Linked DNA regions of Homo sapiens: region 2 is linked to region 1. Evidence: promoter capture Hi-C in human tissues and cell types (Jung and others, 2019). All regions are on one chromosome and are shown on one strand. Each heading gives the region's core, a stretch centred on a gene start or on the middle of the fragment in contact. The rest is flanking DNA. Distances are from core to core; before and after follow the strand shown. Region 1 holds the start of ARHGDIB (Rho GDP dissociation inhibitor beta). Region 2 overlaps PTPRO (protein tyrosine phosphatase receptor type O).

Region 1 (5,811 bases), core at 991-3,490:
CAGGCACGCACCACCATGCCCTGTGAATTGCAATTCAGAGGCATTGTGGCTATTGATCCTTTTTGTATCAGTATGTAATTTTAGTCAAATTATTGAACACTTCTGCATTCTTCTCAGGAACAAAATTTGAAAGTTTTTATCACCAGGCCTGACACATAGAAGGCACTCAATGAATGTTGGTTCTCCTTTTCTATCTGCATAATTTCGACTCCCCAGGGCTTCTCTTTTCCTGCTAGCTGATGTTTGTCATGTACTGTGCTCTCCCAAATCAGCTCAGACCCGTATCTTTCCCTCAGAATGACTTTGTGGTGCTGAGTGTCTACTGAAAACAGAACCTTAATGTTGCTCAGAGCTAACTTCCCTAGGGGACAAACTCATGCTCTCCAAAGCAAGGAAGGACCAAATTCCAGTCGAGGCCTGAAAAATGCTTGCCAGTTTCTGTTCAGTGACAGCATAGTTAGTCCTCAGGTTTTGCATCTGTGAAGCATGGATGGAGAAAGAACTGTCTCTTAGAATTTCACACATCTCACAAAAGAGTAAGATGCTCTTGTTACTAAGCTTGTGCTATATCTGCTTTGGGAGGGAATATATTCTTACAAATTAAAAAAACACAAAGCCAATGGCAAGATTCACGATGCCTGCTAGGGACTGGACCTCTGCCCCCTGTCTCTCCGGACCAACAGGTGCCATGGTCCTCTTGATCTCCTGTGCCTGACCATCCCTGCAGTGAAGATGGCCAGGCCAACCCTGACTCCAGGGGCTCTAGGTCTCCATGTGAAGTGGTGACCATGAGCCCTCCGGGTGAGAGCAGTCTGCCTTTCCCCACTCTGAATGAAGAACTGCCCAGGGCTTGCCAGACACACACCTCAAGTTACCATAGGTCTAGAGTTTAATTACAGATTATGTTTATGAAACATGCTGGCTGGGAAGTCCTCTAAAAGGGAAGAAAGTATTTCAGGTCATACCTAAAGCACTTCTCCTAATGGTGGCTGAAATTCAGACCTTGACATTTTGAAGGCCCACTGATCAGCTGTCCTAGCTGGGCCCCCTTGAATTTTTCTCAAACCTGTCTCTTAATACGTTATTTGGTGTTTTCCATGTTTGCTGTTAGTTATCTCATACCTAAAGGGCTATTATCATTATTAATATTTTTATTTTTTGAGCCAGAGTTTCGCTCTTGTTGCCCATGCTGGAGTGCAATGGCGTGATCTTGGCTCACTGCAACCCCTGCCTCCTGGGTTCAAGTGATTCTCCTGCCTCAGCCTCCCAAATAACTGGGATTACAGGGATGCACCACCACACCCAGCTAATTTTGTATTTTCAGTAGAGATGGGGTTTCACCATGTTGGTCAAGCCGGTCTTGAACTCCTGACCTCAGGTGATCTACCCGCCTCGGCCTCCCAAAGTGCTGGGATTGCAGGCGTGAGCCACCACGCCCAGCCCTATTATTATTTTTGACAACAACAGCAAAGATCTGCCCATCCGACTGCAGGAATTTAATACACAGCCTTTGTCAGTGGTAGAAATTCTATCACTGTATGACTCATGAGTACATAACAATGTGCTATACCATACTTCCTCTTTGAGGGATAAAGCCCCTGCACTCTAAGGGAGGATTTCATTATGCATTTCTCTTATATCACCAGAAAATTATTTAGTGGAAGACAGTTTAATATTTGACAGCTTTGAACCATTTTTTTTTCTCTTTCAACCAGTCTTTTTACATTGTCTGCTTAAAAACAGGAAACCACATATCTCCACCCCAGCACAACCCACCATCCACCAGCACAGACCGTATCATTTTGGATCTACAGTCTTTTTCTTCCAAGCCTGGCCAGGTGCCTGCTCCTACTTTGCAGGAAACCCCTCCAGGCACTCCCGGTGCGTGTTCTCAGAGCCCTTCTGAGAATATTCAGGATTGCACTTCCTGGGCTGCAGCGCACCCTGTACCCTCCTTTTTTAAGCCTCCTCCCCTGAGTCACTGCTACCCTTCCCTCCTCTAACTTCCCCTTCTCTGCAGCCTCCTTAGCAATTTCTTATCATAAAGTTTGTTTTAAAGAAGAACTGCCCCTCTAAAAAAATAATAAACTGTCGAGGGCGGTAGCCCCGTCTAGAGGTTTCCGACTTTGCTCTGTGCCCACCTGAAGCCTCCCCAGCCCGAGGTATTTGAACTTACATTCAGTGCTTCACGTCTCTGTCCGGGGTGCCTCTGTCTCTCAACTCTGACTTCTGAGTACTGGCAGTTAGAACAGGAAGGAAGTCAATGAGAAAAAAAAATGTTTTAGACCTACTTGAAGAGGAAACCCTGGGCTGTCTCAAATCCTGTTCCTTTGCACTGCCTATCTCTTGATCAGCCAACTTGAGCAGCATTCTTGTCAATTAATGGCACATGTGCGAGCATGACAGCCCGTGTGACGTGGAGATGCATGAATGTACACGCAAGAGTGTGGAGCCTATAGCTATGGGTATTATGAATAATTGTGAGGGTATTTCTGATAATCAGGTCATTGCAGTGCATAAGCCTATGGAGGTAAGGAGCCTGAAACCAGTAGCAATAAATTCACATCGGCTTTACTTTGTACCACTCACTTCTGTTCCCACTGGGTCCCCGCCAGCTTCATTATCAACCAGATACGTTGAAAGTTTGCTGGCAGTGAATGTAGAGTGCTAAGAAATGATGATTGTTAACTGCATATACTACGGTCCTAAATTTAAAAATGTGTCCTTAAACAGATTTTTGGAGTTTTGTTGGTTATAATTTCAAGACGTAGCTTTGTATTGCACTACAAACAGTCAAATATTGTTTTTAATAGTTTTGGCTGATTTTTCTTCAAATGAAACAAACAAGCAAGCGAAAGTACTGTCTTTGATGAAACCTAGGAAAGAAATTACAAAAGGAAGTAAAACTTCATTAATTCATAGTCTTCCAACTCAGAATTTGTGACAACTTAACAAGTGCCAAAATAGACTTTGTACCATATTTGAGGAAATGGTTTATGAAGTAATTTAAATGGGAACAAGTCTCGGAGGCCATGTTTAAACCATCTGAGGAACAGTTTTTAAGCAGCCAAGTCACATTCATGCTGTATATTCCCGTAGCTGTTACCAATAATAAATGCTTATTTAGGTTAATATTTCAATATTCAGTATTTACACTACATCAATATATTTAGATCTGACTAAGCACACAAATTTGGAGAAACTGACGTTTATTTTGTTTTCACCTAAATGTACTGCATCTTCTTCATTTCCCTTTGTAAATTGATACCACAGGGTTTGCCTTCTACTTAGAGTCAATGAAATCGGAATAATCAAGGGAGTCATTTCACGTGAGAAGAGATTAGCCTAGAAAAATATGAAAAGGAAAATAGTATATAATTAAAATGAGCAAAAATACTAAAAGCCTAATACCACTTTATTCTATAAATTTTAAAATAGCATAGACAGAATACAGCCCTTGAAACAATGTACATAACTTTATTGTAAAAACAAAGCAAACCCTAATTTACACAGAAGGCAGTAACTTACACATTCTATAGCTCTGCACCCTCAAGAGGGGATACATTTATTCATTCCATAACATTTATCGAGCACCTCTTTTCTTTCAAGTACTGTTCTAGTTCCCTTGTGCAGCAATAGACCGCAGGCGACATCTCTGCTGCCCTGTGGAACTTATGTTGTACCTAGGAGACAATTAAAATAACACAGGCAGAATACATTAATTGTAACAAGAAATATTTAAAAATGAAAAATGGTAAATGCATGGTCTCTATTCCACCACTCATTTCTCATGTTATTAGGGAACACCTCACTAGGCAAACCTGGCTTTTTTTTTCCCTCCAGAGCCCAGTGTATATCGGAGGGTATGGGAGCACCCCTTCCCAGAAAAATCTGTAAAATCAATACATATTTTACAGATTTGTATTATAGATTAATGTATTTATTGGGGGATGAGAGAGCATTCATAATTTTAGAAAGTTCTAAAAGGACTCCAATTATCAAAATATACTTAATTCCTGGTCATATGCAAGGAGCCACGGAAAGGTACAGAAATAAACAAGACACAGTCCTAGACCTCAAGTAGCTAAAAGATGTAATGGGGAAGACAGAAGCAGACAAATTTAATTTTTTTTTTGTCAGCATAGGAAAAGAAAAAATACATGGTGTGTTTTGAGAGTACATGTAAGGACATCAAGGAAGGCTTTTTGGAGGAAGTGACCACTGCGCTCAGTTAAGAGGGAGAGTAGGTTTTGAGTAGTTGATGAGCGAAGGGTTGGGAGTGAAAGAGAAGGCACTCGAGGTAGAGGAGAAACATGAGCAGCAACACGGCCCTGGCCTCCCAAAATGATGTGGGATATGCAGGGTATTATAAGCAAGCAGCTCAAGATTGTTGGAATGTAAAGTGGAAGTTACATGTGAATGAGAAATATACCTAGAGCAGGGCAGGCACAGTGTTCAGATCACCACGGACCTCTTATGCCATGTTAATAACGAACTCGGCCTAGATCCTATCAGTGATGGGGAACTGTTGAAAGTAAAGGATGGACATGATTGTTTTGCATTTCACTTAGTTTACTCTGGCAAACTGATGTGGTTGGATTTGATGTGAATAAAATCTATTAGGAGACTGTTTAGGCTTGAACACTCATAATGAGATAGACAGAAATGGTCAGATTTGAGAAATATTTAGGTGAAATTGGCATGCCCTGGTAATTGGTGGGATGTGAAGGATGAGGATGAGGAGGACTGTGGAATCAGGAATGACTTCTGGATTTTTTTGCTAGAATGATTGGGTCCTTGGGGGTACCCCCAAGTGAGATAGAGAATACAAAAGAAGAAATAGATGTATTAGGAGAAATAAGGACATACGTTTGGACGTGTCTAGTCCTGAGTTTGAAAAAAAATGGTGTCGTTTGTTGGAGATGATTTCTGAAAGATAGTGAAATATATAAGCCTGAATTTACATATCATCAGACTATGGATAGTAATTTAAACCAGGACACCCAAAGTGTGGCCTGTGTACCAGCAGACTACCATCACCCAGGAACTCCTTAGAAATAAATGCAAAGTCTCAGGCCAAACCTCCTACATCAGAATCTCTCCCGGAGGTTGGACCTGGAAATCTATGTTTTAAAAAGCTCTGCAGGTAAACTTTGAGGTTTTAGAAACACTGGTTTAAACTATGTAAGTGGATGGATTCACCCAGAAGGAATGGAGAAAGAGAAGTTGGCCAAGCATGGGGCAATCCTGTTAGCTCCACTTTCGGTGAATAACCTGCTGACAGCTTCTTACCTCCTCCTTGTTTAGCACCCTAGCCTACCATCATTGTGCCTCTGCTGGACTTTCATAGCATTCTCTTTATATGTTTTCTATTTCCATAATAGTCTGATTTAACCTTTATTCTCATAACAGACTAAAAAGCATACTCATAATCACATCTTTCCTTCGTTTTCAGACCTCTAGGGATCTTTCATCCACTTAAAATAAAATAGAATTCTATTTTCACCTATATCTGCAAATTGGCTTATTGTAGTAGCCATCTTCCAAGACAGCCTCCAGTGATTCTGGTATTCAACCCTGATCACATTGTATCAAGATTGTTCTGTGTGGCCAATAGAATATGGCAGAAATGATGGCATGTCGCTTCCAAGGTTGTTAGACATTGTGTCTTTTCTCTTGATTTCTCTTAGATCATTCATTCTGTGGGAAGCAGGGCACCATGTCATAAGGACACTCAAGCCCCCTGTGGAGTGGTCCATGTGGTGAGGACCAAAAGCTGTCTGAGTGGACCATCCTGGAAATGAAGGTTTC
Region 2 (5,811 bases), core at 1,569-4,068, 570 kb after region 1:
CCACCCACCTCAGCTTCCCGAAATGCAGGGATTACAGGCATTCCCTGCTTAAATTTTTAAAAATTTAAATGCATAAGATGATAAAGTAGCAAGCTCAGTGTTAGAATTTAGCTTCGTGGCTAAAAAAAAAAAAAAAAAAAACTTGTTCTTCCCTTCTTTCTCTCTCTCACTACTCACTCAGCAACATTTATTAAGAGCCTGTTTTCTGCAAAGCACTGGGCTAGACACTGTCAAAAATAATGTCTTGTTATTTTATGCAAATAACATTTGTCTTCTATCCTGCTTGTAGTACTATGATCTTCTATCTTCCTACCCTTGTATCCTACTGTTCTTTATTCCCATAAACACCTTTGCTGCAAGTAAATGAAAGAGACTTAGTTTGCAGGACTCTAAGTTTTTTAATCCTACTTGGCTAATAACTCCACTGATACCTATTAATATTAATTGGTTGATGTAACAAAAATATACCCAAACAAGTGAACTTTTTAGGAATTTTGTAATGGTGACATTTATCCAAAAGACTTTGATATCCTCAGGTACAGATGGGTCTGGGGGTCTTGTATCTTAGATATACAAGATGTGGGATCCCATTAAACAAGTGCCCATCCTGTATCACCATCCTTCACTGTTATTGAGAGGTCCTGAAGTTACCGGGACTATCGTGTGCTGTGAATTCTAATTCGCTAAGTTGACTCTATATGGGATTTCATGCTCTGCTGGTAAGTACTTTATTTATCCATCTATTATACTAAATTGTGCCTCGTTTCTCCCTTGTAGCCCCAGTGGCTCCGGAAATCACTTCTGTGGAATATTTCAACAGTCTGTTATATATCAGTTGGACATATGGGGATGATACAACGGACTTGTCCCATTCTAGAATGCTTCACTGGATGGTGGTTGCAGAAGGAAAAAAGAAAATTAAAAAGAGTGTATGTTTCTTTGAATGCCAGCATTGTGTGTCTGTAAATTTAGTTTTATGAACTATTGAAAACCACTAAGCAATCATTTATTGACACGTCAAATGTTTGCATACCAGTTGTCTGTTTTAGGCTCTGGAGATAAGACAGTGAACAAAAATTGAATTCTTCCTTTCATAGAGCTTACCGTTTAATCTTTAACAGTGAGATGTAAGAGCTCCAACTATTGATTTCATTTATATTTAGAATTATGATTTGAGCTTTTTCTTCAGGATGCCAAACATTTTCAAGAAAACTACAATTAACGTGTTTCCCATTTTTTCCCATATATCACCGACACCTAAAGATTTGGGGACCTTGGGACTACTGATTTCTTTTCTCCAAAATACGCTTTTGGATGTTTATTGATAAGGGGACAGACTAAACTACTGTAATAAAGAAACAAACAAAAAGAGAGTGGCTCAAACAAAATAGAAGTTTATACCTCTCCCATGATAGCACAGGACTAACCAGGCACTTCTGCTTTAAGGGGTCACCCAGGGAGGCAAATTCTGTTTTGTTGTTCCATCTGCCACTATGCATAGTCCTTGTCTCTAGAGAGGAAGCTTTATCACCATTACATGCATGTTCCAGCCTGCAGGAAGGGGAAAAGAAAAGGGATGATGTGGAAGCCCAGCACTTACAGGATGTGAACTGAACTGTCATTTGTCCATGTGACTTCTACTTACAATCCACTGATCAGAGCTGGGTCACATCATCCCCTCTAGCTGTAGGAGAGGATGGGAAATAACAATGGCTGTTAGGTAGGAAGCCACACGTCTACAGATATGGGTAGGTTTCTTTTGAACGTCTTAGAATGTACATATCAGTAGCAACTCAGTAATTGTCTTTTCTAAAACCTGTTATCAATATGTGAGAAAATGTCAGAATGAGACCCATTCCAAATAAGGGAATTCATTGCAAAATTTTTCTGATGTATATAATGCATTATTAAGGCTACCTCACATTGGGCCCAGCTGAGGAATTTATAAAATTTTCAGAAGATATAACGTATCTATAATATAATCAATTGCAGACTGCTGCATAGAACAGAGAGGGAATGTGTCTGCTATAGTCCTTTAGTTGTTTGGGGTGGTGCACTGATTCATTCACTAAAAGTTTAAACCCTTGATTTTGATGATCTTGCAGGTAACACGCAATGTCATGACTGCAATTCTCAGCTTGCCTCCAGGCGACATCTATAACCTCTCAGTAACTGCTTGTACTGAAAGAGGAAGTAATACCTCCATGCTCCGCCTTGTCAAGCTAGGTAAGAAGAGTGCACAGAGATGGGTGTGAAATAATCACTAATGTTTGCATCATTCGATTCAGCAAGAGCTCCTCAATTCAATGAAATAATAACAGAAAAATGGCTAATTTTTTATGAGTAGAAAATAGACATTTGTACTAGCAAAAGGGTATGTTCAACTTGGTACAAGTTTCTGTGAGTGGGTTGTATACTGTTCTGGGAAACAGTGGTGTTCGCTGTTCTTTGTAAGGTTAAAGAAACCAGGTAGTCATAGGATTTTGGAGATGGAAGCACATTAGAGATTATCTAATGCAGTGTTCACAACCCTATAAGACAACATTCTATTTTCATATTAATATTATGTAATGCTCTCTTTAATATCTTAAATAGTAATGGATTTAAAAATCTACATATTGATTTTTTAAATTTTATATAGTTTCCCAACTCCAGAATAAAATCAAGACAAAAAGAAACTAATTTATAATAAAATAATATGGATTTCCTAAATATATGGTCAGACACAACTACTCTAAAAGACATAATGAAATTACCTGATGCCTAGATATAATTAAAATGAATAAGTTGGGGTTTATAAGAAATAAAAAGATCATTAGTCCTTCATATAAGAAGTATAAAAATAAGCAAAGAAATGAACAAGTTAATATAAATTGATAACAAATAACTAAACAAGCATAGATACAGGTAGATACTAGAATAAAAACTAGAGTTAAAATAAGTACTAAAAGATGAGATATATTTTCATATAATGAGAGAAAGATGGAAATAATTTTAATTAAAGTAGGGACAACACACCAAAAGTTTATAAATGGCAGCATAGAAGCAAGCTGGCTTCACTCCCCTCTACCCAACAGAAAACCAAAAGCAAATATACACTCTGAGATTTTCACCAGCAACAACCCAGAACTCAAATACGAGGATGCGACCGATTCCAGAGCCATAGAGAAGTGAAAATACTCTGGGCAGATGGTAGGAGAATCAGGCTTCCACATTCGTGACGCCTCCCCCGCGATTCTGCCTGGCAACAAGTGTGCAGAAAATCTTCTGCCAACTCATGTTTCTACACTGGAAAAAGTGAGGTTGAGGTAGTCAACTAGTTTCCCCACTATCTTGGGCTCCCTGGCAGGAAATCTGTCCTTGCCTTAACCCACAGGAAGCATCGTGACTGCCTGAAGGGAGAAATAGCTTGAGGATAGGCAGAAACAAAGAGATGAGATGGAACTACCATTCCCAGTCCCAGCAACTCTGCTCTGTAACTTGGCCAAAGGAGACACCAAATCAGAGTGGCTGTTCAGCAGCACCATACTGTAGGAGGTACATTTCACAGGTCCCTTGGGCATGAGCCCCCCAGCTAACTTTGACACACTGCCAGGATAATTCCTTTAAGACCTTTCTTTTTCAGGACAGGCAGAGCCAAGGCAAATCTGGACTTAAGGTGCCACCTAGAGCTGAAATGTAGGCAGTGATCTAGTGGTAAATATTTGCTAGGCAAACATAGCCAATAAAAGACAAAACAAGGCAAGGCAGACAAAGGAAAGTGGACTAAATAGTTAATTATTTAATGCAAAGACATAGTTCTATGCCCATAAGAAACAACATCAAACAGGGAACTGTGACCCGCCCACGCTACCCAGGAAAAGGACAAAGCAAAAATCCAATGACTGACCCTAACAAGATGGTGATCTGTGAGCTCTCTGAACAAGAATTCAAAATACAGTTTAAGGAAAATCAGTGATGTCCAGGAAAACACAGAAAAGCAATTCAGAAATTTATCAGAGAAATTTTTAAATCAAACAAATTCTTGGTACTGGAAAATACGTTTGCTGAACTGAAAAACACATCACAGCAGAATGGACAAAGGAGTGGAATGATTCAGGGAGCTAAAAGCCTATCTGAAAATACACCATTGGAGGAGAAAAAAGAAAAATAAGACTGAAAGTAAGTGAAGTCTGACTATAAGATATTAAAAAAAAAAGGCTGGGCACGGTGGCTCACACCTGTAATCCCAGCACTTTGGGAGGCCAAGGCGGGCAGATCACGAGGTCAGGAGATCAAGACCATCCTGGCTAACATGGTGAAACCCTGTCTCTAATAAAAATACAAAAAAAAAAAAAAAATTAGCCAGCATGGTGGCGGGTGCCTGTAGTCCCAGCTACTCGGGAGGCTGAGGCAGGAGAATGATGTGAACTCAGGAGGTGGAGCTTGCAGTGAGCCGAGATCGCACCACTGCACACCAGCCTGGGTGACAGAGCAAGAATCTGTCAAAAAAAAAAAAGGTATTAAAAAAACCTTAAAAGATCAAACATAAGAATTATTAGTATTCAAGGGGGAGCTGAATAAGGAAGTTTACTGAAAGAAATAATAATAGAAAACATTCCAAAACTTGAGACAGGTACAAATAGCCAGGTTCATGAGGGTCTGAGAATACCAAACAGATACCACTCAAATAAAATCACCCCAAAGCGTATAATACTCAGACTCTCAAAGGTCAAGGACAAAGAGAAGATCCTGAAAGCATCAAGAGAAAAGGAGCAAATAACAGGTAAACAAGCTGCAATTCACCTGGCAACAAACTGTACAGGCCATGAGGAAGAACATTTTTACAGTGCTCAAAGAAAAAAAACTGCCATCCAAGAATAATGTATCCAGCAAAATTGTCCTTCAAATATGAAGGAAAGATAAAGTATTTCTCAGAAAAACAAAAGATGAAAGAATTCACCACTACCAGACCTGTCATACAAGAAATGCAAGAGAGTTCTTCAATCTGAGAGAAAAAGACACATGCGAAAAGAAAACTTTTCAAGGTATTAGACCTTTGGGAAAATTAAATGCATGGACCAACCCAGGATATTCTGTTACTGTGATTGTGGTGTACAATCCATCCATAACTCTGGTATAAAGCCCAAAAGACAAATCTTTTAAAAATAATAATAGCTACAGCAACCTGTTAAGAGATAGGTAATGTAAAGCATGTAAATTGAGGCAACAAAGTCAAAATTGGGTGGTGGAGAGAGATGAAGTTAAATTTTTAGGTGTGGTAGTTTTGCTTTTGTTTCTATTCTTTTGCTCATGATCTAAGATAAGTTGTCATCTCTCTAAAGTAACTTGTTATGGCCAGGCATGGTGGCTCATGCCTGTAATCCAGCACTTTGGGAGGTCAAGGTTGGTGAATCGCTTGAGCCCAGGAATTCAAGACCTCATCTCTACTAAAAAAAAAAAAAAAGGAAAAAAAGAAAAGCTGGGTATGGTGACACATGCCTGTGGTCCCAGCTACTTGGGAGGCTGAGGCAGGAGGATCACTTTAGCCCAGGAGATTGAGGCTGCAGTGAGCTGTGAGCTGTGATTGTAACACTGCACTCCAGCCTGCATGACAGAGCAAGACCCCCATCTTAAAAATAAGCAAATAAATAAATAAACTTGTTAAATCTATAAGATTTTTTATAAGCCTTGTGGTAACCACAGCACAAAATCATATAATCAGTTCATTAAAAATAAAAAGCAACAAATTAATACATAACACTTAATAATCACTTAACCACAAAATATGAAGAGAGGATTCTCAAAACAATCTGAAAACAGGCAACAAAA

What was found. Contacts are between HindIII fragments. The study calls those that stand out against the background at their distance.
Region 2: a contact is called between a fragment that was not itself captured here and the fragment with the promoter of ARHGDIB in region 1, in 1 of the 25 tissues and cell types used here (H1 embryonic stem cells).

Annotation. Positions count from the first base shown.
Region 1 is chr12:14,959,361-14,965,171 of GRCh38, forward strand. It overlaps ARHGDIB (Rho GDP dissociation inhibitor beta), which reads right to left and starts at 2,241. Exons shown (of 6, transcript NM_001175.7): 1 at 2,177-2,241. RefSeq lists enhancers at 584-693, 1,944-2,063. The HindIII fragment of the contact is 9,154 bases long and covers 1-5,811 here.
Region 2 is chr12:15,524,037-15,529,847 of GRCh38, forward strand. It overlaps PTPRO (protein tyrosine phosphatase receptor type O), which reads left to right. Exons shown (of 27, transcript NM_030667.3): 11 at 778-929; 12 at 2,106-2,226. Among named protein-coding and RNA genes, the nearest start is that of PTPRO, 200 kb to the left of the region's middle. RefSeq lists enhancers at 1,522-2,721, 2,250-2,319. The HindIII fragment of the contact is 4,719 bases long and covers 460-5,178 here.